Regions from separate parts of the Homo sapiens genome. Here regions 2, 3, 4, 5, 6 and 7 are each linked to region 1. The links are contacts of gene promoters, found by promoter capture Hi-C in blood cells and fetal thymus (Javierre and others, 2016). All regions are on one chromosome and are shown on one strand. The core of a region is centred on a gene start or on the middle of the fragment in contact, and the rest is flanking DNA. Distances in the headings are between cores, read along the strand shown. Region 1 holds the start of RGS10 (regulator of G protein signaling 10). Region 2 has its middle 3.4 kb from the start of GRK5. Region 3 overlaps GRK5 (G protein-coupled receptor kinase 5). Region 4 overlaps MCMBP (minichromosome maintenance complex binding protein). Region 5 overlaps MCMBP (minichromosome maintenance complex binding protein). Region 6 overlaps GRK5 (G protein-coupled receptor kinase 5). Region 7 overlaps GRK5 (G protein-coupled receptor kinase 5).

The links. Contacts are between HindIII fragments. The CHiCAGO score rates a contact against its expected background, and 5 or more counts as called.
Region 2: a contact is called between a fragment that was not itself captured here and the fragment with the promoter of RGS10 in region 1, in 11 of 17 cell types (non-activated CD4 T cells, naive CD8 T cells, total CD4 T cells and 8 more). The highest score is 16.7, in non-activated CD4 T cells.
Region 3: a contact is called between a fragment that was not itself captured here and the fragment with the promoter of RGS10 in region 1, in 11 of 17 cell types (non-activated CD4 T cells, total CD4 T cells, activated CD4 T cells and 8 more). The highest score is 13.5, in non-activated CD4 T cells.
Region 4: a contact is called between a fragment that was not itself captured here and the fragment with the promoter of RGS10 in region 1, in 7 of 17 cell types (total CD4 T cells, activated CD4 T cells, naive CD4 T cells and 4 more). The highest score is 10.5, in total CD4 T cells.
Region 5: a contact is called between a fragment that was not itself captured here and the fragment with the promoter of RGS10 in region 1, in 2 of 17 cell types (total CD4 T cells and total B cells). The highest score is 6.6, in total CD4 T cells.
Region 6: a contact is called between a fragment that was not itself captured here and the fragment with the promoter of RGS10 in region 1, in 1 of 17 cell types (non-activated CD4 T cells). The highest score is 6.6, in non-activated CD4 T cells.
Region 7: a contact is called between a fragment that was not itself captured here and the fragment with the promoter of RGS10 in region 1, in 1 of 17 cell types (total CD4 T cells). The highest score is 5.5, in total CD4 T cells.

What each region holds. Positions count from the first base shown.
Region 1 is chr10:119,540,778-119,544,878 of GRCh38, reverse strand. RGS10 (regulator of G protein signaling 10) reads left to right here and starts at 2,160. Exons shown (of 5, transcript NM_001005339.2): 1 at 2,160-2,289. The coding sequence starts at 2,241. RefSeq lists enhancers at 397-905, 1,168-1,247 and silencers at 1,458-1,617, 1,668-1,737, 1,748-2,487, 2,538-2,707. The HindIII fragment of the contact is 10,649 bases long and covers 1-4,101 here.
Region 2 is chr10:119,202,084-119,206,184 of GRCh38, reverse strand. No RefSeq gene overlaps it. Among named protein-coding and RNA genes, the nearest start is that of GRK5, 3.4 kb to the left of the region's middle. RefSeq lists an enhancer at 28-107. The HindIII fragment of the contact is 1,703 bases long and covers 1,234-2,936 here.
Region 3 is chr10:119,219,076-119,223,176 of GRCh38, reverse strand. The region is part of intron 1 of GRK5 (G protein-coupled receptor kinase 5); the gene reads right to left. Among named protein-coding and RNA genes, the nearest start is that of GRK5-IT1, 13 kb to the right of the region's middle. RefSeq lists an enhancer at 293-804. The HindIII fragment of the contact is 2,279 bases long and covers 551-2,829 here.
Region 4 is chr10:119,862,996-119,867,096 of GRCh38, reverse strand. The region is part of intron 1 of MCMBP (minichromosome maintenance complex binding protein); the gene reads left to right. Among named protein-coding and RNA genes, the nearest start is that of MCMBP, 7.8 kb to the left of the region's middle. The HindIII fragment of the contact is 780 bases long and covers 1,463-2,242 here.
Region 5 is chr10:119,844,601-119,848,701 of GRCh38, reverse strand. It overlaps MCMBP (minichromosome maintenance complex binding protein), which reads left to right. Exons shown (of 16, transcript NM_001256378.2): 8 at 989-1,089. Among named protein-coding and RNA genes, the nearest start is that of MCMBP, 26 kb to the left of the region's middle. The HindIII fragment of the contact is 2,562 bases long and covers 945-3,506 here.
Region 6 is chr10:119,256,793-119,260,893 of GRCh38, reverse strand. All of the region lies in intron 1 of GRK5 (G protein-coupled receptor kinase 5), which reads right to left. Among named protein-coding and RNA genes, the nearest start is that of GRK5-IT1, 50 kb to the right of the region's middle. The HindIII fragment of the contact is 6,652 bases long and covers 1-4,101 here.
Region 7 is chr10:119,280,874-119,284,974 of GRCh38, reverse strand. The region is part of intron 1 of GRK5 (G protein-coupled receptor kinase 5); the gene reads right to left. Among named protein-coding and RNA genes, the nearest start is that of GRK5-AS1, 56 kb to the left of the region's middle. RefSeq lists an enhancer at 3,381-3,881. The HindIII fragment of the contact is 8,364 bases long and covers 1-4,101 here.

The DNA.
Region 1 (4,101 bases), core at 911-3,410:
ACCTCCTCCTCCCAGGCTCAAGTGATTCTTCTGTGTCAGCCTCCTGAGTAGCTGGGATTACAGGCACCTGCCACCAGGCCTGGCTAATTTTTGTATTTTTAGTACAGATGGGGCTTCACCATGTTAGCCAGGCTGGTCTTGAACTCCTGACCTCAGGTAATCCGCCTGCCTCTGCCTCCCAAAGTGCTGGGATTACAGACGTGAGCCACAGCGCCTGGCCCTAACTATGCATCTTAATTTTTGTACTTACTCTCTGATGTGCTAACAGGACAGTAAAAGTGATTTAAGGCTGTTATATTTTCCCTTTATTTAAGAGATGCCTGGGGTTCTTAGCTCAGGAGGGATTCATAGCATGTCTTAAGCCACACCAGTGTTTTTCAGGACACGCTAGGGTGGACTTGGCAACTAGCAAAACACTGAGCTGCTGTGCCTAACTTTTACCCCTGTGTGCCAGTGTGCTTATTTCCTGTCTTAGGATTACTTGTAATTTGGTCTCGGGGAAGTTTTCTGGGTGAGTGCGTTGCACCAATTCCCTTATTGTTTTAAGAACGCAGTGACCTCACTTGGATCCAGGACTCTGCCAGCATTTAAAATCCCGCTCTTACGAAAGGTGAAACTCTTGCCTATAGTTAAGTATCACAGCTTGATCCCATTACAATGAGATGGAAGTTTGTCTGGGCCCGGAGTAGGCCAACAACAGCAGTTTTAAAAGCAGAACTCCCCGCGCTGGGTCTAACCCTGTTCTTGGTCACCGCGTTCGCTTCAGGAGCCTGGAAATCCTCTTTTGGCAGCAGAAGGGGGAGAGTGCTTGGAAATGCTCGGAGGAAAACGACTTTTGGAGGGGGAATAGCGGGGAGGGAAACAACAAGCAACCACCGGCCACACTTGGGGTGCAACTGGGGCTGTGGGGTGGGTAGAGGGAGAGGGAAAGTGAGCAGAACTGGAAGCTCAGAATAGAAGATACAAAAGAAAGTGCCAAGTAGTGAAAAAAACTGCAAAAGGACGGGGGGATGGGGGGAGGGCGACTGGGGAACGGTTTGGAAAAATAGCAATTAGTACAGCTAAAAATAAAGACCAATTTAGAGACAAAGCCAGATACACAAGGAGAAAAATAAAACTCGCCAGAAAGACAATTTCTTGCAAACCAAATGTTCAAGAAAATGGGGGCTAATGACATCCCCTCTGGGGCTGCTCCATAGAAGAAATGAAATAATAGGAGACCGTAGAGCGCGCAGCGCCCAGCAGGTGACGCCGTGGGGGCTTGAGTGGTCCCGGTCGTGGAGCCTGAAGGCCCTGCCAGAGGCAGTGCCCACGTGTCCCCAAAGTTAGAGAAGTGTCCCGAGAGCGCGGTGTGCGGGACAGAGCACCGCCCGGCGCAGGAACCGGGGGGTTCCTGCAGAATCCTCTCAGATCTCCCCGAGTCCTGGCGCCCGCGCGGCACGGCCGGGGAGAGGGCGCCCACCCGCGGCGGCTCGGCTAGCTCAGCGCACGGGCCCTGGGGACGCCCCACCCGCATTCGCGGGGCGGGAAGGCGCAGCGCCCACGAAGTCGAGGAGCAGCCAGGCCCCAGCAGGCGGGGATCCTGGTGACGAGGAGGCAAAGGCCACAGGCTGGGCCGCGCCCGGACTCTGCAGAACCGCGAGGCCTAGGCTTCCCAGCCTGTGACCCGGGAGGGGACCCCGCCCGCCACCTGCGAAGGCTCGCTGAGAGCCCCGAAGCGCGGTGCGCCCGCGGCGCCGTGCCAGTTTCTCCGGGGCTACAGGGAGAAGGCGGGAGACCGCGATGGGCCCGGGAGCTTGAAGCTGGGCGGGGCGGGCCGGGGCGGCATCTCAGGCGAGGGCCAGGGACCCCGGGACGCGCTAACCGCCTCCGCGGGGCTACTAAGTTCCCGGCGGCGCGGGCTCCCTCTGGGCCAGTGCACCTTATCCCAGGCGCGGGGCACACTCTGGGCGATCGGGGGTCACCCGGGGCTGCCCTGCCCTGCCCCGCCCGGGCACCCCGGAGCGGAACCGCGAGTCCTCACCAGCGGGGGCGGGCAGGGCGCACTGAGCGCGCCACGCGGCGCCTGGCTAGGAGGAGGGCGGCGGGCGGGGACCTAGAGCTCCGGGGCGGTGCTGAGCCCGCTCCTCCTCCTTGCCCTCCTCCTCCTCCTCCTCGCCCTCCTCCTCCTCCTCGCCTTCCTCCGGCTCAGCCGCCGCGCCGCCGGGCTGCTCCTTCTTCCTCCTCGGGCGCCCGCGGCGATGTTCAACCGCGCCGTGAGCCGGCTGAGCAGGAAGCGGCCGCCGTCAGGTAAGCGGCTTCGGGGGCCCGCGGGCTCGGGGTCGGGGCGCCGTTTCGCCCGCCCGGCCTCCTGCCCTCCCTCTTGTGCTCGGGCGCGGCTCGGTGGTACCTCCCAGACTGGAGCCCCGGCCGACCGCACCACCTCTCCCCGCTGGGTACCGCACCTTCGCGGTCCCAGCCGCGACGGGAGCGCAGAGCTCCTCCGGGAGCCCCGGGGAGGAAGTTTGGCTGAAAGAGGAACAGCCGCAGTTTTCTTTTTAGTGATGGTCTGGGAGAAAAAGGAGCGCCCCAAATCTCCAAACTTTGGAGGTGACATGGGGCTCCAGATTCCGAAAGCGGAACGGCGCGCGGGCTTCTCCCTCCGTGACGCTCTCCGCCTCCGCTGCGGGCGTGGGTGGAAGGATGCCGAGCGCCCGGGGGAGCACGGCTGGACCCGGGCATCCGACTGGGCCCCTGGGCCTGGGGCGTCGGGGGCCTTCGCTTCTGCCGCGAGGAGCCAAAAGGTGGGATCGCGAGGGTGGCGGAACCCCAGGATGGAGAAGGGCACTTCTGCGGTCCGAGCCAGCGAAGTTCTGACGTTACGAAGGATTCGCCTTGGCCGTCACTTTGGGCCAGCCTGAGCCACGATCTCGGGCAACTTGATAGGCCAAAGACCCCACGGTGAAGGTGGAGCCGTGCCCTTGATTCCGGTCCTTCCACCCTTTTGCTCATCACAATAGCTACGACCTGTGCAGGCCTTTGGGTGCGCCAAGGGCTTTGTCCACCGCGTTGGGTGAACTCTCCCTTCACCCCTAGGACAACCCGGTGAGTGAGGAGGGAGCGGAAGCCAGGCGCTGTTAGGTAACTTGCCCCAGTCACACTCCGCAGGTGATGGGGAGGCTTTCAAACCCAGGTTCCCCTGACTCTGAAGTTCGGGGGCTTTGCCGGGCTTCCCACGCCAAGATTCACTTCTGCTTGGCGCTCAGAGTCCCAACGCGTTGGTGCATTTCCTTTCTGCTCCTGGTATTTTATGAGGGACATTGTGGTTTAGAGACTGGGACCAGACTGGCTGGATCCGAATCTCACCTTCGCCATATTCACCAGCCGTGGGACCTTTCTGCAGAATGAGGTTCTGCACAGTGGGAATAACAGTAGCTACTCGCCTTTTAAAGTACTTAATTGGAACCTGTCTTCCATCCATCAGGTTTTGCAAATTATTGTATTTAATATGTAGGATTTCATAGGGTTGTTGTAATGATCTTACATTGTTGCCCGGCAAGTACTAAGTGCTCCGTTAGCGTTAGTGGTCATGTAAACCTTTTTGTGTTGCATGTGAGTCAAAGAATTCCCTTGTGGGTGTTAATGTTAACCAGTCTCTATGGTTGGCACAGGCCTGTGGAGCGCTGCTCAGAGCCTGGACTCGAATTAAACTCTTGGTTCTAACCTTGACTCTGTCATTCAGCAACACTGGGCAAATTACTTGATCTCTCTGTGCCTCCGTTTCAGTGATGTGCTGGAGCTGGCTCAAACTGGCTTGCAAGAGCCAGTTGCCAAATATTCAAAAAGTTTGGAAACTGGTTGTAAACCATAGGTAGCTTGAAAGTAGTTATGATGGGATATTTACATCATGAAAATCAACAAAGCTAAAAATGAAGGCTTCATTTTGACTCAGGAGAGCTGATGTTCCAGCACCTTTCTCCACCTGCAAAGTGGGTTTCATAGGGTTATGGGATTAAATACTCAAAACCATATGAAGCCCCTAGTACAATGTGTGGCACATAATAAAAGTGTAATAATTAGTAGCTTTTCTCCCTTTTGCCTGTTATAAATAGAGCTGCTATG
Region 2 (4,101 bases), core at 836-3,335, 340 kb after region 1:
ACCTGCTTTCCTGGGGGAGTATACCCACCACCACCACTTCCTGGTGTCTAGACTTGGGTCAGTGAGTCTCCCAGGGCCTCATTTATCTTGTCTGCAAAATGGGGGCAACAACAGTTTACCTGTCAGAAGGCGGAGGGCTCAGCGGGTAACTTTTCAGGCACTTACCACTCCAGGAATTACTGTTCTAAGCAATCCAGGCTTGGTCTTTGCTACATATTCACGTGCCTAGAGCCCTAACCTTTAATGAAAGGATCTCTCTCAGACAGCGAGACCCCTAAAGCTGGCAGCTCCTAGAGCCCTCCACCAACCACGCTGGTCACTTGCTGGCAGCATAGGGCCTGATGAAGCCCGAAGTTTGTTTATTCGGCTAACATAAAAAAAAAAAGAAAGAAAATTTTTGAATGCCTTTAGATGGCTTATGCACCTTAACAATTTTCTTGGGCCGGGCGCGGTGGCTTACGCCTGTAATCCCAGCACTTTGGGAGGCCGAGGCGGGAGGATCACGAGGTCAGGAGATCGAGACCATCCTGGCTAACAGTGAAACCCTGTCTCTACTAAAAATACAAAAAAAAAATAGCCGGGCGTGGTGTTGGGCTCCTGTAGTCCCAGCTATTCAGGAGGCTGAGGCAGGAGAATGGCGTGAACCCGGGAGACGGAGGTTGCAATGAGCCGAGATCGCGCCACTGCACTCCAGCCTGGGCGACAGAGCGAGACTCCGAACCAAAAAAAAAAAAAAAAAAAAAAAACAATTTTCTCAAAGGTTGTTTTTGTTTGTTTTTTTGTTTTGTTTTGTTTTGAGACAGTTACTCTGTCACCCAGGCTGGAGTGCAGTGGCCCAATCTCGGCTCACTGCAACCTCGGCCTCCCAGGTTCAAATGATTCTTGTACTTCAGCCTCCCAAGTAGCTGGGATTACAGGTGTGTGCCACCATGACTGGCTAATTTTTGTATTTTGAGTAGAGACGGGGTTTCGCCATAATGGCCAGGCTGGTCTTGAACTCCTGGACTCAAGTGATCCAACCCGCCTCTGCCTCCCAAAGTGCTGGAATTACAGGCATAAGCCACCATGCCTGGCTCAAAGTTTCATGAGCATACAAATCACGGGGGATCTTGTTAAAATGCAGATTGCATTTGGATAGATCTGGGGTGGTTTCTGAGATGTTGCTCTTTCTAACAAACTCCAGGGCTCTGTCGATCCTCGTGGTCAGTAGACCACACTCAGAGTTGAAAAGCTTTCTAGTTTACCGTAACTCCCTATTGTCTTATACCCAGCCCAAGTCACTAGTGATTTTATTTATCTGGCCTGTATAGACATTTAAGTTTTCCATCCTGGGAACCCCTGCCTCTCCCTCTCATTTTACAGATGTGAAACAGACCCAAAGTAAGTGAGTTGGCATGGTCACTCAGCAAGTTAGTGTTAGACTATTTTTTTGTCCACTACAAGCTGTTGCATCCTGCCTACACAAATACATGGTTGTACATCAGGTTTTTGTGCCTCTATGAGGAAATTCAGACACTCCAATGCAAGAATGGAACAATAATGGCTAGCATTTACTCAACACCAACTGTGGGCCAGGCTCTTGTGGTCTTTTAAATGGATTATCTCCTTGAACACAATATCCAGATGAGGTAGGGAACACAGGCCTATTTTATAGATAAAGCACCAGGTTAAGAAAGGTTTTATAGGCCGGGCACGGTGGCTCACGCCTGTAATCCCAACACTTTGGGAGGCCAAGGCAGGCAGATCACCTGAGGTCAGGAGTTCGAGACCAGCCTAACATGGTAAAACCCCGTCTCTACTAAAAATACAAAAATTAGCTGGGTGTAGTGGCAGGTGCCTTGTAATCCCAGCTACTCGGGAGGCTGAGGTAGGAGAATGACTTGAACCCGGGAGCCAGAGGTTGCAGTGAGCCAAGATCATGCCATTGCACTCCAGCCTGGGCAACAGAGTGAGACTTTTTTTTTTTCCTCAAAAAAAAAGAAAGGTTTTATAATTTGTCCAGGGTCACATAAGTAATAAGTAGAAGACCCGGGATTTGAACCTGTCAGCCTGACTCAGAGTTGGTGCACTTAATTTCTGGCTTGCGCAAGCTAGCCAGCACAGCTTGGTAGTAACTGTTCTGTGTGGCTGCCGGGATGAACTTGTATTATAAGAAGGCAAAGCACCCAGTTGACTAAATCATTAAGATTTCAAGGGGTTTTCCATTTTCATCTATAATTCCACCATTATGGCTTTATTCCTTTCAATTAACTGCACTAACAACTCGTGGTCTTCTTGAAAAATGGGTTTGATTCAAGGAAGAGTAGGCTATTAAATATAAATAGCTAAGTAGGGAATCATTGACAGCCAGCTGAGAGCAAGAAGGGAAATCCAAATGGAGGAGTGGGGGTGAGGATGGAGGGATGGGAATATGTCAAAGACAGCCAGCTTCAGACTCCACTCAGGAGCAGCTGAGCCAAAAATGCAAAAGAAGTCAGATGCAGTGGCTCATGCCTACAATCCCAGCACTTTTAGAGGCTAAAGCAAGGGTGCAGGGGATGGGGGGGTGGAGATCGCTTGAGCCCAGGAGTTCGAGACCAACCTAGGCAACATAGCGAGACCCTGTCTCTACGAAATAAACCTAAAAATTAGCCAGGTATGGTGGCACTGAGCTATGATCGCCCCACTGCACTCCAGCTTGGGTAACAGAGTAAGACTGTCTCTAAAAAATAAAAAAGCAAAAGAAACAGGGAACCTTCAAATTCTTCTCTCAGCACCTGTATCTGCCATGAATAAAGCTGCTGGGTCAGAGTTCTTGTAAATAGAAGTCTACTATGCTGGAAAGCCACAAACCTATCGGCCTTCTAAAATATAGATTCCTTTTGCCTGAATAATCAAATTGGCTTTCTGAATAGTCCAGGAACTGGAGTTTCCATTCCTTTCCTTGACTCAAAGCTTTTTAATCCTCAGGAAGCAGCTGCAGATAGAGCTTCCATTCTCTCATTTATCCTCTTCTCCTTCAGAGTTTACCTTTCTGTGTCCAGCCCTGCAGGGAGTTCAAGGCAATTTCCCAGGGAGCTCGCCACTGGGAAGGAAAACACACCGGATGCAAACAACCTCCATACAATGGAATAAGGGCCATTGTGGAGACACACACAAAGGACTTTGCAAACGGGAAGAAGTGATTTCAGGCACCAAAAGAGGAGAAATGTGAGCTGAAAGCAAATCTGGAGGCTTGAGGTTTCCAGTTAACATTTCCTCCCCTCTGAATTCCCTTCATCAATGGACCTCAGTGGTTATCAATTGGACATTAAAAGTTTTACTATGGGCAGGGCACAGTGGTTCACGTCTGTAATCCCAGCACTTTGGGAGGCCAAGGTGGGCAGATTACCTGAGGTCAGGAGGTCGAGAACAGCCTGGCCAACATGGTGAGACCCGTCTCTTCTAAAAATACAAAAACTAACCAGGTATGGCAGCGTGCGCCTGTAGTCCCAGCTACTCAGAAGGCTGAGGCACGAGAATCACTTGAACCCGTGAGGCAGAAGTTGCAGTGAGCCGAGATGGTGCCGCTGTGCTCCAGCCTGGGCGACAGAGCGAGACTCTGTTTCAAAAAAAAAAAGAAAAAGTTTTAACATGTTGTAAACTGCCTATTGCTCTTCTAGTGACTTCATATTTTTCTTTTTTTTTTTTTTTTTTGAGATGGAGTCTCGCTCCGTTGCCCAGGCTACAGTGCAGTGGCATGATCTCGGCTCACTGCAAACTTTGCCTCCTGGGTTCAAGCGATTCTCCTGCCTCAGCCTCCCGAGTAGCTGGGATTACAGGTGCGCACCACCACACCTGGCTAATTTTTGTATTTTTAGTAGAGGTGGGGTTTCACTATGTTGACCAGGCTGGTCTTGAACTCCTGACCTCAAGTGATCCACCCACCTCGGCCTCCCAAAATGCTGGGATTACAGGTGTGAGCCACCATGCCCGGCCAATATTTTTCTTTAAAGTCAGCTCACTTTGAAAACTTTAATTCATCCTAACCAATAATATTTGTGAAATGTGAGGAGTAGTAGAAGTGTCATGCTTGAGAAAACCAATCTCCAAGCAACACGTGGTGTCTTTGCAGCCTTTGGT
Region 3 (4,101 bases), core at 441-2,940, 320 kb after region 1:
GAAGACAGCCACCAACAAGCCAAGGAGAGAGGCCTGGAACGGGTCTTCCCCGGGTACCTTCAGAGGGAGCACGGCCCTGCACACACCTTGATTTCAAACGTCTGGCCTCCAGAACTGTGCGACAATAGATGTCTGTTGTTCTAAACCACCCAGTTGGTGGCACTTTATTACGTATCCCTAGGAAACACACAGCCTGGGGATGGGTGTTAGAGTTGCAGAGCTGCCCTGGAGGAAAATCCAGGCCAGGGGACCCATCCTGCTTTGGAGCCTCTTTCTGCTCCTGCACGGCCACCCATGCGGGCCCCTTTTGGCCCTCAGATCCCTTCTTTGCGGAAGGAAGGAGCTGGCTTCAGTGTGAGGAGCTCCCTCCCACACTCTGACAGGACACGGAGCCCGTAGCCTCAGCACGCAGTGAAGGGGCAGCCCTTCCCCATGTAGAGCTAGCTCACACATCTGCAAATGTTTCCCAGAAGAAAATGCCATTCTCCTCCAATTGTTAACAAAATTACTGAAGGCCGTGGGGCTCTGGACTATGCCCTCATGCCAAGCTTATCTCGGAGGGAGGCAGAGCAGGAGGAGGGGCCACTGATTTGTTTTGTGTGGTGCTGTTTTTAATGGGCGTTTTCTATTCTCAGGTGGGAACCGTAGGGCCCTTGTCTAGGTAAATTCCATGCAAACCTTTAGTGAAAGCAGTTACCAGAGGAAGAGCTACAGAATTCCACAGAGGAGGATACTGTGCCAGATCAAAGACAGGGCAAATGACCTCAGGAGGACTGACACCAGCACAGGCAGCACTTGGAGGGGATTAGGAAGGGGCGTCCCTTCCTCAAGACACTTTCTGCCCCCCGACCTGATACATTTACACATCTACCAGCTTTAGGATGGGAACAATGGCTCCCTAGAATTGTACAATGTACAATGAAACGCAAAAGCTCTCAAACACGAAAAACGAAGCAATGGATTGGCACCACAGGAAACAAGGGGAAGTGGCTCCTTGGTATGTGATCTTGGAAAACCACTTCACCTCTCTGAGCTTGTTTTCCTTCTTTCTCAAACTAGAATAATACTAACAGCAACAGCAAAAACAATTCCCAGGCCCACAGGGTTGTGCTGATGATCCACAGTGAGAGATCCAAGACACCTTACGAAGCTGTGGGCTTGTTTTCTGAGTGTACCCCCTGCCTGATTTACACATGCAAAATCCAAGGGCAACTGAAAAGTCATCTACAACTAAAGTCTTTGACTGAACTCAACCTTAATTTCCCTAATTCAAACTTTGAATACCATAGAAAAGATGACTCATTACTCAGAGGTGAGGGATGTTAAGTCCCAAAGGTCTCAGAAATGTCATGTCACATGTATCATGCTCCTTTCTCATAAGAAAATCTACATTGTACATCCCTAGGGTCACTGAAGCCTATTTCACAAATTATTATGATTCTTCCCAAAGAGGAAAGGGGATGTTATTAGGCAGATACTCCCACAGGAAAAAAACAGAAGTCTTTAAAATAAGTGCATAAAGATGAATATATCATGGGTAGGATATTCCTTTATATTATCTTTAAAAATTAGAGAATTTAAATGGCTCATTCTAGGGGCTTGGTTAAATATATTATAAAACTAGTCAAAGACAATGAAAAACACAGACCCCTTTAGAACTGGATAACCCCTAAGAGTCTGCTAGAACATACCCAGCATTCCATTGAAACAGCATTCAGCTTCCAAAGTCTTTCACAATTTTTCCTGACACCCATCCATTTCATGGGAAACTATAAACACAGATATGGAAAGGCTCTGCAGCATATTGTGGACTGAAAACAGCTGCGGAACAGTGTGTACACTGGGACCCATTTTGTGTAAAGTTCTATCTAGATGTTCGTATGTGCATATACAGAGATTTGGGAAAACGTTCACCTACATGCTGACGCTAATTATTTCTGAGTGGTGGGATTGGTAGCAGGGGTGCATGGGAAGACAGAGAGAGATGCTTTACATGGTCCTTTGGACTTTTTTTTTTTTCCGAGATATAGTTTTACTTTGTCCCTCAGGCTGGAGTGCAGTGGCACGATCTCGGCTCACTGCAACCTCCGCCTCCCGGGTTCACGCCATTCTCTCCCTTCAGCCTCCCGAGTAGCTGGGACTACAGGCGCATGCCATCACACCAGGCTAATTTTTTTGTATTTTTAGTAGAGACAGGGTTTTGCCATGTTGGCCAGGCTCTTCTCAAACTCCTGACCTCAGGTGATCTGCCAGCCTCAGCCTCCCAAAGTGCTGGGATTACAGGCATGAGCCACCACTTCTGGCCTGGACTTTCTTTAGTGAGTATTACCTTTGCAAATTTTTTTTTTTTTTGAGCCTCTGTCACCCAGGCTGGAGTGCAGTGGCGCGATCTCAGCTCACCACAACCTCCGCCTCCCGGGTTCAAGCGATTCTCCTGTCTCAGCCTCCCAAGTAGCCGAGATTACAGGCGCGTGCCACCATGCCTGGCTAATTCTTGGATTTTTAATAGAGACGGGGTTTTGCCATGTTGGCCAGGGTGGTCTCAAACTCCTGACCTCAGGTGATCCACCCACCTTGGCCTCCCAAAGTGCTGGGATTACAGGCATGAGCCACCATGCCTCGCCTCTGAAATGTTTTTAAGCTACCAAAAAGACTAGCAAAAATACCAAGGACCATGATATAGAACAGTCACCACTAGCCACTGAAGCATAAACTAAGAGGTGCACCTGAAGACTAGCCCTCACCTCCGTAACCCATGGAACCAACCAAGGAAATCGGGTTTCTCCTTCCTTAATTTATATTTTGCTATATATTATAGAGAATTAAGCTTTAATTTGTAAAAATCCCTCTAATTGGATACTGCTGAAGGGAAGACATCTGGGGCAAATATCTAGGCCTGGTGCATTCCATCCCAAGCAATGGTTAGTGGTTTGGAGAATAAGTGTGCGGCAAAATAACCAGTGGTTACTAATTATTATATATCACAGGGCTTGGCACCATCCATAAAGCCTCATCATGTTGGCCTCTTCCTCTTCAGAGAGGATTACAGAATTGACTGTTTAGAAATTTTTCCTCCAAGTTAACATACGTTTTCCTTGTCTTAATTGGATCCAGCCTCCCTGCCCATGAGCAGAAAGGCAATTTTTCTTTAACGATTACATCCTTCAAATGCCAGGTCATCAGCCATCCCTAGGTCTGGAAGGATCAAGCTGCTTGGCTTCCTCTTTTCTTTCCATTTGCTCAACCTCATTCTAGCAGTTATGTGAAAAGCATGTGAAGCTCACATCGAAAGTTACCTTCGATTTGGCCAAAAAAGGGATGAGTGTTATCGGCATGAAACATCTCCTCCTACTCACACAGAGCCTCAGAAATGGGGAGAACTGTTTGCCCCAAATGTTTGGTCTAATGCAAATATTTATTTCTTCCAAAACGACTAAAACAAACCACTTCCAAATTAGGGGGGAGGGGGAGTTTGCCAAACATTTTTCAGAGTTAAGACAAACATTTGGAAAACATTTTCCAATTTGCCCTATAACCTTAGTTAACCTTTCTTAACCATGTTGAATCGTATCCTAATGTACCATCTATTGTGACCCCAAGGCCATTTCTTGAGGATATCACTTTCTCGGCTCTCTTCTTCACCATCACATAACATAAATACAGGTTGAGTATCCCTTATCTGAAATGCTTGTGACCAGAAGTGCTTTGGATTTCTGATGTTTTTGGATTTTGGAATATTTGCATTATACTGGTCGAGCATCCCAAATCTGAAAATCTAAAATCCAAAATGTTGCAAAGAGTCAAGTGTGGTGGCACGCACCTGTAGTCCCAGCTACTTTGGAGGCTGAGGCAGGAGGATCACTTGAGCCCAGGAGGCCAAGGCTGCAGTGAGCTAAGCTATGATGGTGCCACTGCACTCCAGCCTAGGCAACAGATCCAATGATCATTTTGTATGCATCATGTTGGCTTTCAAAAAGTTTCAGATATTGGGCCGGGCATGGTGGCTCAAGCCTGTAATCCCAGCACTTTGGGAGGCCGAGGCAGGGAGGATCACGAGGTCAGGAGATCGAGACCATCCTGGCTAACACGGTGAAACCCGCT
Region 4 (4,101 bases), core at 603-3,102, 320 kb before region 1:
GGTCTCGACCTCCTCTGCCCTCGTGATCCACCACCCTCGGCCTCCCAAAGTGCTGGGATTAGAGGCATGAGCCACCGTGCCCTGCCTGAAGTAACCGCTTTTAACTGTTTTTGCTTTTAGAGGTTTTTTTCTTTGAGACAGAGTCTCGCTCTGTCACCCAGGCTAGAGTGCAGTGGCACGATCTCTGCTCACTGCAACCTCTACCTCCCAGGTTCAAGCAGTTCTACTGCCTCAGCCTCCCGAGTAGTTGGGACTACAGGCGCCTGCCACCACACCCAGCTAACTTTTTGTATTTTCGTAGAGATGGTGTTTCACTATGTTGCTCAGGCTGGTCCAAAAAAATTTTTTTTCTTTGAAATAAAATTCACATAACAAAATTTAACATTTTAAAATGTACAATTGAATTTTTTTTACTGTATTCATAATGATGTTGTGCAACCATCACCACCACTATCTTTTTCTCTTTTTTTTGAGACGGAGTCTCACTCTGTTGCCCAGGCTGGAGTGCAGTGGTGCAAACTTGGCTCACTGCAACCTCTGCTTACCGGGTTCAAGCGATTCTCTTGCCTCAGCCTCCCAAGTAGCTGGGATCACAAGCATGCACCACCATTCCTGGCTAATTTTTGTATTTTTAGTAGAGACGGAGTTTTACCATGTTGGTCAGGCTGCTCTTGAACTCCTGATCTCAGGTGATCCACACGCCTCGGCCTCCCAAAGTGTTGGGATTACAGGCATGAGCCACCACGCCCGGCCACCCCTATCATTTTCATCACTCCAAAAAGAAACCCCATACCTTTAGTAGTCTCTCCCATTTCTTCTGTCTTCCATCTCTGGCAACAACTATACTTCTGCCCATGGATTTACCTATTCTGGACGTTTCGTGTAGGTGGAATTATACAACATGTGGCCTTTGAGGTCTGGCTTCTTTTCATTTACCATGATATTTTCATGGTTCATCCATGTCATAGTATGCATCAGTACTGCATTCCTTTTTTTTTTTTTTTTAAGAGATAGAGCCTGGCTCTGTCGTCCAGGCTGGAATGCTGTGTGGCAAGATCATGGTTCACCGCAGCCTTGAACTTCCAGTCTCAAGTGATCCTGCAGCCTCAGCTTCCTGAGTAGCTGGGACTACAGGCATGTATTACCTGTATTACCACACCCAGCTAATTTTTAAATCATTTTTTGTAGATTTGGGGTCTCACTATGTTGCCCAGGCTACACTCAAACTCCTGGCCTCAAGTGACCCTCCCGCCTCGGCCTCCCAAAGTGCTGGGATTACAGATGTGAGCCACTGTACCCAGTCTGCATTCCTTTTTATGGCTGAAAATAACATTCCATTGTATGTCTATACTGCATTTTGTTTATCCATATATTTGCTGATGGACACTTAGGTTATTTCCTGGCTGTTATAAATACTGCTACTATAAACATTCATGTACAAGTTTTTGTGTGAATGTAAGCTTTTTGGTTCTTTCCCAGATATACCTAGGGATGGAATTGCAAGGTCATATGATAATTTTATATTTAACTTTTTGAGGAATTGCCAAACTTTTCCACAGTGGCTGCACCATTTTACTTCCCAGGTTCAAGCAATTCTCCTGCCTCAGCCTCCCAAGTAGCTGGGATTACAGGTACCACCAGCAAGCCCAGCTAACTTTTGTATTTTTAGTAGAGATGAGGTTTCACCATGTTGGCCAGGCTGGTCTCAAACTACTGATCTCAGGTAATCTGCCTGCCTTGGCCTCCCTAAGTGCTGGGATTACGGGCATAAGCCACTACGCCTGGCCTAAAATGTTTTTAAGAAAGGTTGTGTGAGAAGAGAACAAGAGGCACATTATATAATGTTAAAACAGTCAGTTCACCAAGAAGACCTAACTATATATGCACCAAGCAACAGAGCTTCAAAATGTATGATGCAAAAACCAGCAGAAATAAAAGAAGAAATAGGCAAATCTGCAATTGTAGTTAGATATTTTACTACTCCTCTCTCAGTACTTGACAGAATAGTGGGTAGAAAATCAAAAAGAATACTGAACAACACAAAACTACACAACACTGTCAACCAAGTAGATCTAATTGACATTTGTTTACCTAATGACAGCAGAATACACATTCTTTTCAAGTGCACATGTAAATTCACCAAGATAAACCACATTCTGGGTCATAAACCAAATAGTAAACTTTATATATAAGAAGAACACTTCTAAACAATCCATGGATTAAAAACTCTCAAAGGAAAGCTTTGAATATTGTGAACTAAACCAAAATGAAAACTCAACATACCAAAATTTGTGGGATACAGCCAAAGACATGCTTAGATGCATTAGCTGCCTTAATTAGAAGAGAAGGTCTCAAGTGAATAATTTAAGCTTCCACCTATGAAACTAGAAATGAAGAGCAAAATAAACCCAAATTAAACAGAAGAAAGAAATAATAGAGAACAAAAATCCATGAAATAGAAAACAGAAAAAAAAGAAAAAATCAGTGAAACTCAAAGCTCTTTAAAAAAAAAATCAATAAAATTGTAAACCTCTAGCCATACTGGCAAAGGAAAAAAAAAAAGGAAAACAAATTACCAATAGTAGAAAAGAAAAAAAGGAAGACAAATTACCAATATTAGAAAAGAAAGAGGAGATAACCACCGTAGACTGTACAGGCATGAAAAGGATAATACAAACAGCTCTACAGATAGAAATTCATCAACTTAGATGAAATGGACCAGTTCCTCAAAAACCACTGTATTAGCTTTCTATTTCTCCTGTAATAAATTACAAATGTAGTGACTTTAAAACAAAAGGTTTTTATTTACAGTCCTGGAGACAGAAGTCTGACATGGGTCTTACTGGGATAAAATCAAATTGTTGACAGGACTTGCATTCCATTGTGGAGGCTTTAGGAGAGAATCTGTTCCTTTTCTTTTCCTGCATCTAGAGTCTGCCCACATTTCTTGGCTTGTGGCCCCCTTCCGTTTTCAAAGACAACAAGTCGAGTTGTTCTCACATCTTACTCTAACTTCCTCTTTTGCCACATCCTTCCACATTTAAGGACCGTTGTGATTACATTGAACCCACCCAGATTGTTTTTTTTTTTAAGTTCAACTGATTATTAACCTTAATTCCATCTGCTACCTTAATTCCTATGTAACATATCTTTACAAGTTCTGGGGATTAGAACATCAGTATCTTGGTTGGGTGGGAGGGGGTCATTATTCTGCTGATCACAGCCACAAACTATCCAAACTCACCCAAGTAGAATAATATTTCACCTTTTACGTCTGGCTTATCTCACTTAGCATAATGTTTTCAAGGTTTATTCCTGTGTCTTCGTTGCTTTTTTTTTTTTTTTTTTTTTTTTTTTTTTTTTTTTTTGAGTCTGAGCCTCACTCTGTCTCCCAGGCTGGAGTGCAGTGGTGCGATCTCAGCTCACTGAAACCTCCGCCTCCTGGGTTCAAGCAATTCTCCTGTCTCACCCTCCCGAGTAGCTGGGATTACAGGCGTGTGCCACCACGCCCGGCTAATTTTTGTATTTTTAGTAGAGACGGGGGTTTGCCATGTTGGCCAGGCTGGTCTTGAACTCCTGACAGGTGATCCGCCCGCCTCGGCCTCCCAAAGTGCTGGGATTACAGGCGTGAGCCACCCCGCCTGGCCCTCGCTGCATTTTAATAAAGATACAAAAGCTAATTCAAATGGAAAAAGGATATTCTTTTCATCAAAGACATGAACAATTTAACATTTACATGGAAAAATAAAATCCTCAACCTTTACCTCATATTTTATATAAAATTAACTCAAAATGGATCATACATCTGAGTATAAAACCTGAAACTATAAAACTTTTAGAAGAAAACAGATCTTTGTGACCTGGGGTTTGGCAATGAGTTCTTAAGACATGACACCGAAGGCACAGTGCGTAAAACAAAAATTTGATAAATTGGGCTTCATCAAAATTAAAAACCTTTGTTCTGTAAAAAAAAATTCTATTAGGAGCATGAAAAGACAAGCTATACACTGGGAGAATATATTTGAAAATCCGGTATCAGAAAAAGAACTTGAATCCAGAATATATAAGAAAACACAGCAGTAATTTAAAAACTCAATTTTA
Region 5 (4,101 bases), core at 976-3,475, 300 kb before region 1:
GGTTCAGAAATGATTGTTAAGGATTTCTATCCTTATTCTTTGTGCATTTTGGGTTTTTTTGTTTTTGGGGGGTTTTTTTGTTTGTTTTTTTGAGGCAGTCTCACTCTCTTGTCCAGGCTGGTGTGCAGTGGCACGATCTCGGCTCACTGCAACTTCTACCTCCTGGGTTCAGGCAATTCTCGTGCCTCAGCCTCCTGAGTAGCTGAGATTACAGGCATGCACCACCACACCCAGCTCGTTCTTTATATTTTTTGTAGAGATGGGGTTTCACTATGTTGGCCAGGCTGGTCTCGAACTCCTGACCTCAAGTGACCCACCCACCTCAGCCTCCCAAAGTTCTGGGATTCCAGGGGTGAGCCACTGCACCCAGATTCTCAGTGGTTTTAACTGAAATGACACTTAAGTCATATGGCACAGGGACCAAAATTACCATTTTTTCCCCTGCCTTGCTTCTACCAGGTCTAATCAGTAAATGGCCTTGACTATTACTAAGTCCATCATGACAGACAATTTTGAAAGGTTTTTTTTTTTTTTTAAATTGTGAAAAATCTTCTGGCCATTCCAAGTTTTGTGTTAATCCGATGTTGCAGTTTATGAATAAATGCAAAGTTAATCATCTTGTTTTTGTTTTTTCCTTTTCTTGGTGTGGTTTAATAGGTTTTGAGATAGTGCACAGTTCTAGTTTTAACTGTCAGCCTTTGGGAAAAGGCTTTTTTTAATTTTAGGAAAAGCCTTTTTTTTTTGTAGTACTGTGGTATATTGAAAACAGACATTAGTCTGGAAGTTAGGCATCCTGTGTTTTGGTTTTTCACTTATTTGCTAACTAGCAGAATGACTCTTGGTCTCAATTTATAAAAATTTATAAAATAAAGGACTTGCTTTAAGGTCTGTTTCCTGATCTAAAATTCCAAGATATTGGTACTTCAAGACTAATATCTTAAGCTTTGTGTCTGTTCTAACAGTGTGATTTCATGTGGTCTCTTGTTAGGTTTATGAAGATTGGGATTGTTTCAAAGTAAATGACATTCTTGAGCTATATGGCATACTGTCTGTGGATCCTGTGCTGAGTATACTGAATAATGATGAAAGGTGAGTCTGTGTGCTCTTTTTTTGGTCTCCTTTATTTTTATATAATTTCAAGTTTTCAGGAGAGTTACAGGATGGTTTTAAAGAACTCCCTTTTCCCTTTCTCCCAGATGTACCAGTTGTAAACACTTGCACCCCATGTGTTTTGTCATTCATTTGTGCTCTCTATGCACACATTTTTCTGAAACACTTGAAAGTATGTTGCAGAAATCAAGCCCTTTTACCCCTAACTGCTTGTCAACATTTCCTAAGAGTACTGACTTTCTCATATATAATTAGAGTACAGGTATCAAAACTAGGAAATTTGCCACAAATATACAATACACTAATCCACAATCTATACTTAATTTCACTAATTGTCTTAATCATGTTCTTTCTTACACGTCTCCCTTCTGCATCCCCCAGTCCAGGGTTCAGAAGCTCGCTCATTCTCTATTTCTACTGAGTTCATACTGTATTTCTGATTCCAGTTCAGCACCACAGGTGTCGTTCTGCTTGTTCTCCTTTCTGTATTAGTGTAACTCTCTTAAACTTGATTCCCATTTTTCACAATCTTATCATTTGCACATTTTTACAACATAGAGAAGGGAATTTCAGAATTGTTAACTCATACCTTTACAAAACATAAACCTAAATAACTAGAGTTCAATCTGAAACAGTCCTCAGCCTTTGTCTTTCATGGTCTTGCCACTTTTTTTTTTTCCTTAAACAACAGAAATATATGTCTTCCAGTAGTTCTGGAGGCTGGGAAGTCCAAAATCAAGTTCCCAGCAGATCTGGTTTCTAGTGAGGGCCCGCTTCCTGGTTTACAGATGGCTGTCTTCTCACGTGGTAGAGAGCAGACAGCCTTGATGCTTTTGAAGAGTGTAAGCCAGTTACCAGTTACTTGTTTCCTCATGGTTAGACTCAATGTTTTGCATTTTTGGCAGGAATATTACAGAATTGATGTATCCTCAGTATGTTACAGCAGGAGGCATGCGATGTCAGTTTGTCCCTTTACTGGTGAGGTTAATTTTCATTAGTTGGTTAAGGTGGTGACTTCCAGATGTCTCTTCTGTAAAGTTACATTTCTCACTTTGTAATTGACAAGTAACTTGGAGGAAGGTACTTGGGGACATAAATATCCAGTTTCTCATTAAACTTTCACCAATTTATTTTAGCATTCATTGATGATTCTTGCTTGAATCAGTTATTACTTTGTTGGCAATTTTCTAACGCAGTACATTTATTTATTGGCATTCTACTATAAAAGATACCTCTTCCATTTGTTTATTCAAGTAATGTATTTACTTATATTTAGTATAGACTAATAGATTCTGATTTTATTCAATGTTAATATCATTATTTTATTTCGAGACCCAAATTTTCCCAGATTTGGCTAGTGGGAGCCACTTTAAGCAGGTGCCGGGTCCTTTTTTTGAGATGATGTTATCATTTTTTAACATTTATTTTCTGGCATATTAAGCTGTTGCAGCTTCATCGTATGCTTTGAAGATCTGAGTCCTAGATGTGCTCGTTGGTACTGGATTAGATTTGCATCTAGGCCCTTAAAGTAGACAGAGCTAGGATACATGCAGCATATGGATACATATATACGCACCCACATTTAAATGCACACATACACACTCACATGCATGTTTTGTGTATTTCTAATGTCTGTGAAAAACCATGGGTTCATATTTCTGATTCCAGTTCAGCACAGCAGGAGTCACATGTTCTAGTTGTTCTCCTTTCTATATTTATGACTTCTTTTTCTAACAAATTTGATTCCCATTATTCACAATCTGTTGTTTCCCCATTTCTACCATATACAGAAGGGAATTTCAGAATTGGTAACCCATACCACTACAAAACAGAAACCTAGTAATTAGAGTTCAATACATTTCCAGTTCATTTTTATTTTAGAATGCAGCTGTGTAGTCAGAGCTATGTTCCACTTACTCAGGTAACTTTTCTTCCCCTTCAGTGTGATTTCATTATTTATTTTACTTAGAAAGATTCTCAGAGGTGTCATTCTCGGCTATCCCCATTCCTGCTGTCTGTTCCCACCCAGCCTCCTTAGGGAACCACAGTTTCTGGTTTATCCTTCCTGTATTTATTTTTTTACAAAAATATGAAGATACGTATACATTTTATTTCTACCTTTTTCTTCTATAAAAGGTAACATGGTATATATACTCTTACACTTTTTAATTTTTTTTATTAACAACATATCTTGGAAATCTAGACCTTCCTCATTCATTTTTGTTTTGTTTTGAGATTGCCAAAAGCAAGGGCTGATGTCCCTCATCTACACCAGAGTCCTCTTGTTGAATACCGGACATTAATCATCTTAGTTTCTGTGTAGGATGAACTTAACATTTTTCACAGTTAAAAAAAAATGGTACAAAACAAAAATTTTAAACAACTTTAAATAAGCTTAACCGTCCCTTAATAATAGTATATGAGATTGTTCATCTTGGCAATTTCTGATTGTGATGACTTTCCTGCTTTAGTTACTTCACTATTGATGTAGTTTAGTTTAGAGGTTGTATTAGGGGTCTCTAAAGGGTCAGAACTGATAGGATAGATGAATATATGAAGGGGAGTTTATTAGGAGAATGACTCACATGATCACAAGGTAAAATCCCACAATAGGCTGGGGAGCAAGGAAGCCAGCCTGAGTCCCAAAATCTCAAAAGTAGGGAAGCCACCAGTGTAGGCTTCAGTCCGTGGCTGAAGGCCTAAGAGCTCCTGGTGAACCACTGGTGTAGGTCCAAGAGTCCAAAAGCTGAAGAACTTGGAGTCTGATGTTTGAGGGCAGGAAGCATCCAGCATGAGAGAAAGGTGGAGGCGGAAGACTCAGCCAGTCTGCTCTTTACATGCCTGCCTTTATGCTGGCAGCTGATTAGATGCTGCCCACCCAGACTGAGGGTGGGTCTGCCTCTCCCAGCCCGCTGACTCAAATGTTAATCTCCTTTGGCAACACCCTCACAGACACATCCAGGAACAATAATTTTCATCCTTCAATCCAGT
Region 6 (4,101 bases), core at 935-3,434, 280 kb after region 1:
GATGACAATGGCGGTTTTGTGGAATAGAAAGCGGGGAAAGGTGGGGAAAAGATTGAGAAATCGGATGGTTGCCGTGTCTGTGTAGAAAGAAGTAGACATGGGAGACTTTTCATTTTGTTCTGTACTAAGAAAAATTCTTCTGCCTTGGGATCCTGTTGATCTGTGACCTTACCCCCAACCCTGTGCTCTCTGAAACATGTGCTGTGTCCACTCAGAGTTAAATGGATTAAGGGCGGTGCAAGATGTGCTTTGTTAAACAGATGCTTGAAGGCAGCATGCTGGTTAAGAGTCATCACCACTCCCTAATCTCAAGTACCCAGGGACACAAACGCTGCGGAAGGCCGCAGGGTCCTCTGCCTAGGAAAACCAGAGACCTTTGTTCACTTGTTTACCTGCTGACCTTCCCTCCACTATTGTCCTATGACCCTGCCAAATCCCCCTCTGTGAGAAACACCCAAGAATGATCAATAAAAAAAAAAAAAGACCATGTCATCTGTGAATTAAAAAAAAAAAAAAAAAAAGCAGACGGTTAAATATGTTAAAGATTCAGAATCACAAATCAGATATTAATTGGCTTTTTAAAAAACTGACCTTGGCCGGTGCGGCGGCTCACGCCTGTAATCCCAGCACTTTGGGAGGCCGAGGCGGGTGGATCACGAGGTCAGGAGATCGAGACCATCCTGGCTAACACGATGAAACCCCATCTCTACTAAAAATACAAAAAAATTTAGCCGGGCATGATGGTGGGCACCTGTAGTCCCAGCTACTTGGGAGGCTGAGGCAGGAGAATGGCATGAACCCAGGAGACAGAGCTTGCAGTGAACGGAGATCGCTCCACTGCACTCCAGTCTGGGCAACAGAGGGAGACTCCGTCTCAAAAAAAAAAACAACTGATCTCAAGAGAATGTTATACCACATTATTTAGTGGAGAGAAGAGGCCAAGAACATGACAACTTATGTTCATAGAAAAAGCTGTTCGTGAATGCTTATAGTGGCTTTATTCATAATCGCCAAAAACTGGGCCCATGTTCTAGAGCTATGCTGTCCACTATGGTAGCCGCTAGCCATATGCAGCTATGTGAATTTAAATCTTAATTTATTAAAATTAAATGAAATTAAAAACTCAGTTCCTTGGTAGCACAAGCCACACTTCAAGCACTCAATGGCCACACATGGCTAGTAGCTACCATAATATACAGAACATTTCCATCATCACAGAAGGTTCCATTGGACAGCGCTGCTCTGAACTCTCTGACCCACTTCCCTGGTCACAGCTGGTTGGCCCAGGGCAGGCCACTTGACCCAAGGGCAGCCAACAATGACTGGTGTGCCTACCAGATGACTTAAATTGAGGGCTCTGTCCAAGAGAAAAGCAGTGACTAACTCACCAACCAATTTTTCTCTCTTTGGGGTGTCAACATTCAGTTAGCTGGTAGTGGGAACATATGAAGAGAAACACAATGAGCAGAAAGTATGATGCAGAAAAGGAAGCCACCAGTAGACAGAGCCAAGATGAAAGAGGGAGTGTTAGGCCGGGCGCAGTGGCTCACGCCTGTAATCCCAGCACTTTGGGAGGCTGAGGCGGGAGGATCATGAGGTCAGGAGATCGAGACCATCCTGGCTAACACGGTGAAACCCCGTCTCTACTAAAAATACAAAAAATTAGCCAGGCGCGGTGGTGGGCGCCTATAGTCCCAGCTACTCGGGAGGCTGAGGCAGGAGAATGGCGTGAACCTGGGAGACGGAGCTTGCAGTGAGCCGAGATAGCACCACTGCAGTCCGGCCTGGGCGAAAGAGCGAGACTCTGTCTCAAAAAAAAAAAAAAAAAGAAAAAGAAAGAGGGAGTGTCATGGAAAGAGGATGGAAGGAACCGCTATCACCTGGGAAGAGTGCCCTGTCACTGTTGCACCTGGGCCAGACTTCCAAATACCCTTCACCTGAGACTGGCTGCCAAAGCCAGCAAAGCCAGCTCTCCTGAGAAGGGGGCAGGCTGGAGTGCCAGGGAATTGACAAGACTCCCGCAGGAGCCCTCAGTCAATAACTGACAGGGGATGGATTCTAGAAACTAGGCTTCCTGCCTGATGACATACCCTTTACCAGCTACCTTCCTTTTCCTCTCCCCTCTCCACTCCCCTGCTGGAGGTGGGGGGAGTTTCCTGGCATTGACCCCCGGATAAACTACTTACACTCAAATCATTGCACCAGAGTCCACTTCTGGGGAACCTAAACTAAAACAGGCAAGGGAGGCAGAGTCTTTGTTCCTTGCAATTAAAACGCCAAGCCCATATTGCCTCTGATCAATGTGAGAGCCTAGAACATAATGAAAGATAATGAATGCTCATGCATCACTGTTGAGAATGCAAGACGGTACAGCTCTTTGGAAAGCAGCTTGCAGGTTTCTTATAAAATTAAACATACACCTACCATGTGACCCAGCAATCCCACTCCTACATATTTACCCAAGTGAAAAGAAAACTTGTGTTCAGAGAAAAAACTGTTCGTGAATGCTTATAGTGGCTTTATTCATAATCACCAAAAATTGGAAACAACCCAAACATCCTTCAATTGGGGAATAAACAAACCCTGAACTCTTGCTCAGAAATAAAGGGAAACTGATACACATAACAACACAGACAAATCTCAAATACATTATGCTAAGTGAAAGAAATCAGACTCAAAAGGCTACACTCGGTGTGATTCCATGTATATGACATTCTTGTAAAGACAAAAAGCAGACCAGTGGTTGCCAGGGGCTGGGGCTAGGAGTAGGAGGTAACTACAAGGGAGTCTGGGGGAGTTTCAGGGGGTGATGAAAGTACTCCTGATTGTGGTGGTAGTTACATGACACCATGTGTACTAACTACGTGGTGTACACAGTTACAACACGCAGAACTATGCACTTTTAAGAGGCAGATGTTACTGTATATAAATTACATTTTCACTAAATAAATGGGAAAAAAATAAAAGAGAATGAAGGCAACACTCTGAGCAAGGACCCCAAAACATGATCTTAGACTAGCTGTGCCAGAATCCTGTCCTTGTCACAGCCAGGGCATAGCCATAACTGAGGAGCTGCACACAAGTCGGAGGCACCCCATCCACAGCGCCTTTTCACCAGTGGGCTCAGCCACTTTGCCCCAGCACTTTTTTGGGGGTTGTTTTCTTTTGTTTAGACAGAGTCTCGCTCTGTTGCCCAAGCTGGAGTTCAATGGCATGATCTCGGCTCATTGTAGCCTCCACTTCCCAGGCTCAAATGATTCTCCTGCCTCAGCCTCCTGAGTAGCTGGGACTACAGGCATCCGCCACCACACCTGGCTAATTTTTGTATTTTTAGTAGAGACAGGGTTTCACCATGTTGGCCAGGCTGGTCTCAAACTCCTGGCCTGAAGTAATCCACCCACCTCCGCCTTCCAAAGTGGAGGATTATAGGTGTGAGCCACCGTACCCGGCCCCTGCCCCAGCACTTTTGAAATAGACATACTCCCTCCCACCTGCGATGGTGCCACCCTCACTGAGGCGTGCCACCAGGGAGTTATATCAGACAGGGGGGCCTATGGGAGAGAATGTTCTCTTTTCCATTTCAGAATCACTGCTTCCGTGTTTCCAGAAGCCACTTGGAAAACATGTCAAAATACCCAGCCTACAGGTGGAGAACACTGACCAAAGTTTCCATTAGAGAAATTAAAAATAAGAACACTCCCCAAAGAACTCAAGGGACAGCAGGAGGCTGTAACTGAAGTTAAAACGAAGGTAGCATCAGTGGATGAGTGGATTAACAAATTGTGGTACATCCATCCAATGGAATATTATTCAGCCACAAAAAGTAATGAATCACTGATGCAGGCTGCAACATGGATGAACCTTGAAAACACTATGCTACGTGAAATTAACCAGATACAAAAAGCCACATATTGTATTATTTCATTTACGTGAAATGTCCACAATAGATAAATCCAGAGACAACCCAGATTGGCGGTTGCCAGGGACCGTGGTAGGGGCAAGTGGGAAGTGATCGCTATTAGATCCAGGGTTTCTTTTTGGGGTGATGGTGATGAAAGTGTTTTGGAATTAGATAGTGGTGATGGTTGCACAACATTGTGA
Region 7 (4,101 bases), core at 1,045-3,544, 260 kb after region 1:
GAGCTCAGAGCCAGATCCCCACGCAGACTGGCAAGTCCTCCAGGCAGCCCAGGATGGGGAGCTCGGATGCCTGTGCTCTGCAGAGCCCTGCCCAGGACCTCCCCTCCATTTCCACGAGAGGCCCCAGTGAGACATCCCTTTGCCAGGACGGCAGCCTTGCATCCAGCACTCACACTTGGGAGAGACACGTGGTGTCACTGGCAGCCCAGTACACAGGCTCAGGCCTGACCCTCCACCTCTGTCTGTTAGGCCCTTTCATCACCTCCTCATGCTTCCCACACCTCCAAATGGCTAACAACTCCCAATATTCACCCACTGACGACTGAGAGGCCACAGCAGCCTGTTCTGCGCCAAAGCCCCTGGACACAGAAGCTGAGGAGCACTTGAGATGTGGCTGGTGGGAGTTCAGAGGTGCTCTGAGGTAAGATAAACTGGATTGTAACTGCTTAGCATAGAAAAAGGAATGTAAAATATCTTGTTAATAATTTTCATATTGATGGTGTACTAAAATGATCATTTGTACATATCGGATTAAATAGCCGGGCTCAGTGGCTCACATTTGTAATCCCAGCACTTTGGGAGGTCAAGGTGAGAGAACTGTTTGAGACCAGCCCAGGCAACATTTCTACAAAAAAGAAAAGGATTTTTATATTAATGATATACTAAAATGATAACCATTTGCAGATACTGGATTAAATAAAATATATTATTAAAATATTATTAAAATAATATCAGTTGTTCCTCTTTTACTTTTCTAAAGGTGGCTACTAGAATTTTTTCTACTTCATAAGAGGCTCACGTTTATTTCCACTGGACAGCGCTGGCCTAGACAGTGGCTCTGACATACACCATCTGGGCCCAAACCTCAGCTTCCTTGACTGGTTGTTTGATGTTGGGCAGGTTTCATTTCCTACCTGTACCCAGCTTCCTCCTCATCTGCCCACAGGGGATCCGAGTACCGAAGTACACTGCCCAGAGCTGGGGAGGAATCAATGAGATCAGACAGATGTGCAGTTACCACAGTTCCTGGCTCTCGATCCATGTTGGCTGCTCTTGCTCATTCAACAGATACTTTCTATCTCCCTATGACATGCCAGGCTCTGGGGACACAAAGATGAACCTTGAAACATTCTCTTGCCAGAGTTATCCCCAATTTAGGCTTTGAAGGGCCAGGCTCACGTCTCAGCTTTGCTACTACCTATGTGACCTTGAGCAAGCCACATTTTGGGGAGTGGGGCTCATGGTCCCATCTGCAGGGTGACCCTTGATGACTCTGGGATCTCAGGGAAGCCATCAGCATTAGAAAGCAGAAGAAGGCAATGTTCCCAGAGGGCAGGTGTCTGAGCTAGCTCCACCCCAAGGCCTAGCCTCCAAGGGTACTTGCATTTTTGCCAGAGACACCATCAGCACTGGCCAGGGAATACAGAGCCCGGGCACGGGCAGGCGTTCCTGAAGCCTGGAACTCAAGGCCTCAGGAACGTGTATGTCTCACTCCTTCCCTGCAGCCTCACTCCTATGTCCTCATTTCCCAGCCTAGAAGAAGGACTTGCAGGGCTTGGAGGGGTGCAGGTTAGGGGACGAGGTGGGAATGGGGTGTGGATTCATTTTCACAGAAGCCTCAAAGTCAAATACTTCATCTCATCTCCAAATGTGACCATGTTGAGCTGCAGGGCTGGAGGACACTCCCGTCCCATCACAGGTCCACCCAGACTGAGCACACTATGAATTAATATTTCCTATAAATCCTAGCATTACCTTGTGACTAGACTAATTATATTGCTATGTTGTTTTTGGTTTAAAAAAAAAACACCATCCTGACAAAGGTTACCAGTTTAAAATACCATAATATTAATATTTATAGCTTTCTTAGGGCATTTTAATTGTTTTAATGAACTGGAAGCCTCAAAACAAAACCAAAAAACTGAAAGCAGGCCAGGCCCCTTATCAGCTCTGAAAGGCCCTGAGATGTGCCCCAACTCTGCAGCAGGACCAGGCCCCAGTGACACAGTAACTCAGGGCCTAGAGGAGGGACTGGATGGGCCAGCAGCCTGGAGAACTCCACAGCATCAACTGGGCGACTGTCACTCCTCCGGCCTCACCTAGTCCTGCTTTCTCACAAGGCCTCACCTTTAAGACAAGACATTCATGTTGGGCAGGAGAAAGCGCTCAAGAGCTTCTAGAAGCCTCCCGGAAGCCTCTGGGGCCCCCGCCAACCCTGGACTCTCCTGACAACTCCTGGGATCTCACCTCCACTCCAGGTAGTTCTGTGCCCAGCTGCTGACCACCAGAGCAGGAAGCTGTCACAGACCACCGGGGCCAACCCTTCAGGCTCTGGGGAGAAACCTGGACCCACAGGGGGCCTTGATCCATCTGCTCGATAGTCCATCTGCCCATGAGCCCATCCAGGGCCGCAGCACACGCCTCTCCTGCCCCAGCCGGAACCCGACCCTGGTCTAGGAGCTGAGGACACAGCAGTGCAGACACATCAGGTTGGTGAGGGAGACAGACAAGGAAAACAGACTGTTACAAGACAGCCTGGTGAGACGGGCTGCCAAGGAAAGGGGGAAAACTAGCAGGGGGAACAGCAGCACTGGGGCCAGAGAAGTGTCTCCCATCCCAGCAAGAGACAGCTCTGCTGCAGTCTGGAGCTCCAGGAGGAACTGGCCTGGTGAAGACCTGGGAGAATGGTCCAGGCTCAGAGAAAGGTTTGTGCAAATCTAGACTGTGAAAGAGACAGCCCAGTGCTCACTCACGATACTAAAGTAATTTAGGGCCCCAAAATGTGAGTGGGGGGAGGAGCAAGTGAAGTCAGTGGTTTGGAGAGTGCAGCTTGGGTCCGAACTCAAGGAAGAGGTGCTGTGTGAAAAGGCAAATCACAGCAGGGCACACTGGCATGGGGAGATCACACAGAAAGCGACAGTGGCCAGCAGAGCAAGAGACGCAGACCAAGGAGGGGAGGGCAAGGGACAGATGCCCAGGAGGGAGGTCACCAATGGCAATGAGAAACAGGATAGGCTCAACAGATGTCTCCAGGATTTCTGCTTGGGTGACAGGCCACTCAGGCTGTTGTCTGTGCAATGAGATCACGTCTTAGAAATAAGAGATTTAGTCTTTACCGAATCCATCTACAAAGCTAAGTAGCAGCCTGGTTCTCCATCACTGGTTCACAGCAGGGACATTCAGCCAGCTTCTCAGCCACCTCGGGGGATCGGATGACTTGATGGCCTGGCTCGGGGATGGCAGTGCTCAAGGGCACGCTTCCAAATGGGCAGGGGCCCAAGAGAAGAGGCGGCCAACCACCACCCCGGGAACCCAGGGCAACCTGCCAGCTTCAAAGGCTCAGCCGTGCTAAGACCCGAGGTCGGCCAGATCCCTCCCTGTGAAGAAGATGCCACCACAGGAGAGGCTGATTACAGAACAGTGGCTCAAATACAGGCTGTGTGGTCACAAGCATCCGCATACAAGCACCAGGGGTGAGCCGTGCACAGACATGGCCAAAATGAACGAGCCATCACCACTTCTGGGTGCTCGACACCTAATGGGAGCTCAAGAGCAGGGGAGAGGAACAGGAGAGCTCGGGGCAGAGACTGCCAACCCAGGGTAGTTAGTAAAGTAGGGTTAGGGGGGTCCCTGGCCAGACCCACAAGAACTGCTTTGGGAGCAGCCGGGAGGAGCAATTTTTTCCCAAGGAGGCAGTGAAGGCAGCATGTGCAGAGTCCCTGAGAGGAAGGTGAAGAGGTGTCCATGTGAGCAGAATGACCCAGCCCAAGCATGGAGGCAGCACATGGTGGCAAATCCATCTAGATGGAGAAGATCCTTGTGCTGGGGACAGAGTGAGAAAAGTCCTGAAAGCAATGGGCCGGCCCTGAGGCTTTACCCTGCAGAAAACGGGAAATCAGATGGGCGTGGTGGTTCATGCCTGTAATCCCAGTACTTTGGGAGGCCAAGGCGTGTGGATCATGAGGTCAGCAGTCTGAGACCAGCCTGACTAAAATGATGAAACCCCGTCTCTACTAAAAATACAAAAATTAGCTGGGCGTGGTGGCGCACGCCTGTAATCCCAGCTACTCAGGAGGGTGAGGAAGGAGAATTGCTTGAACC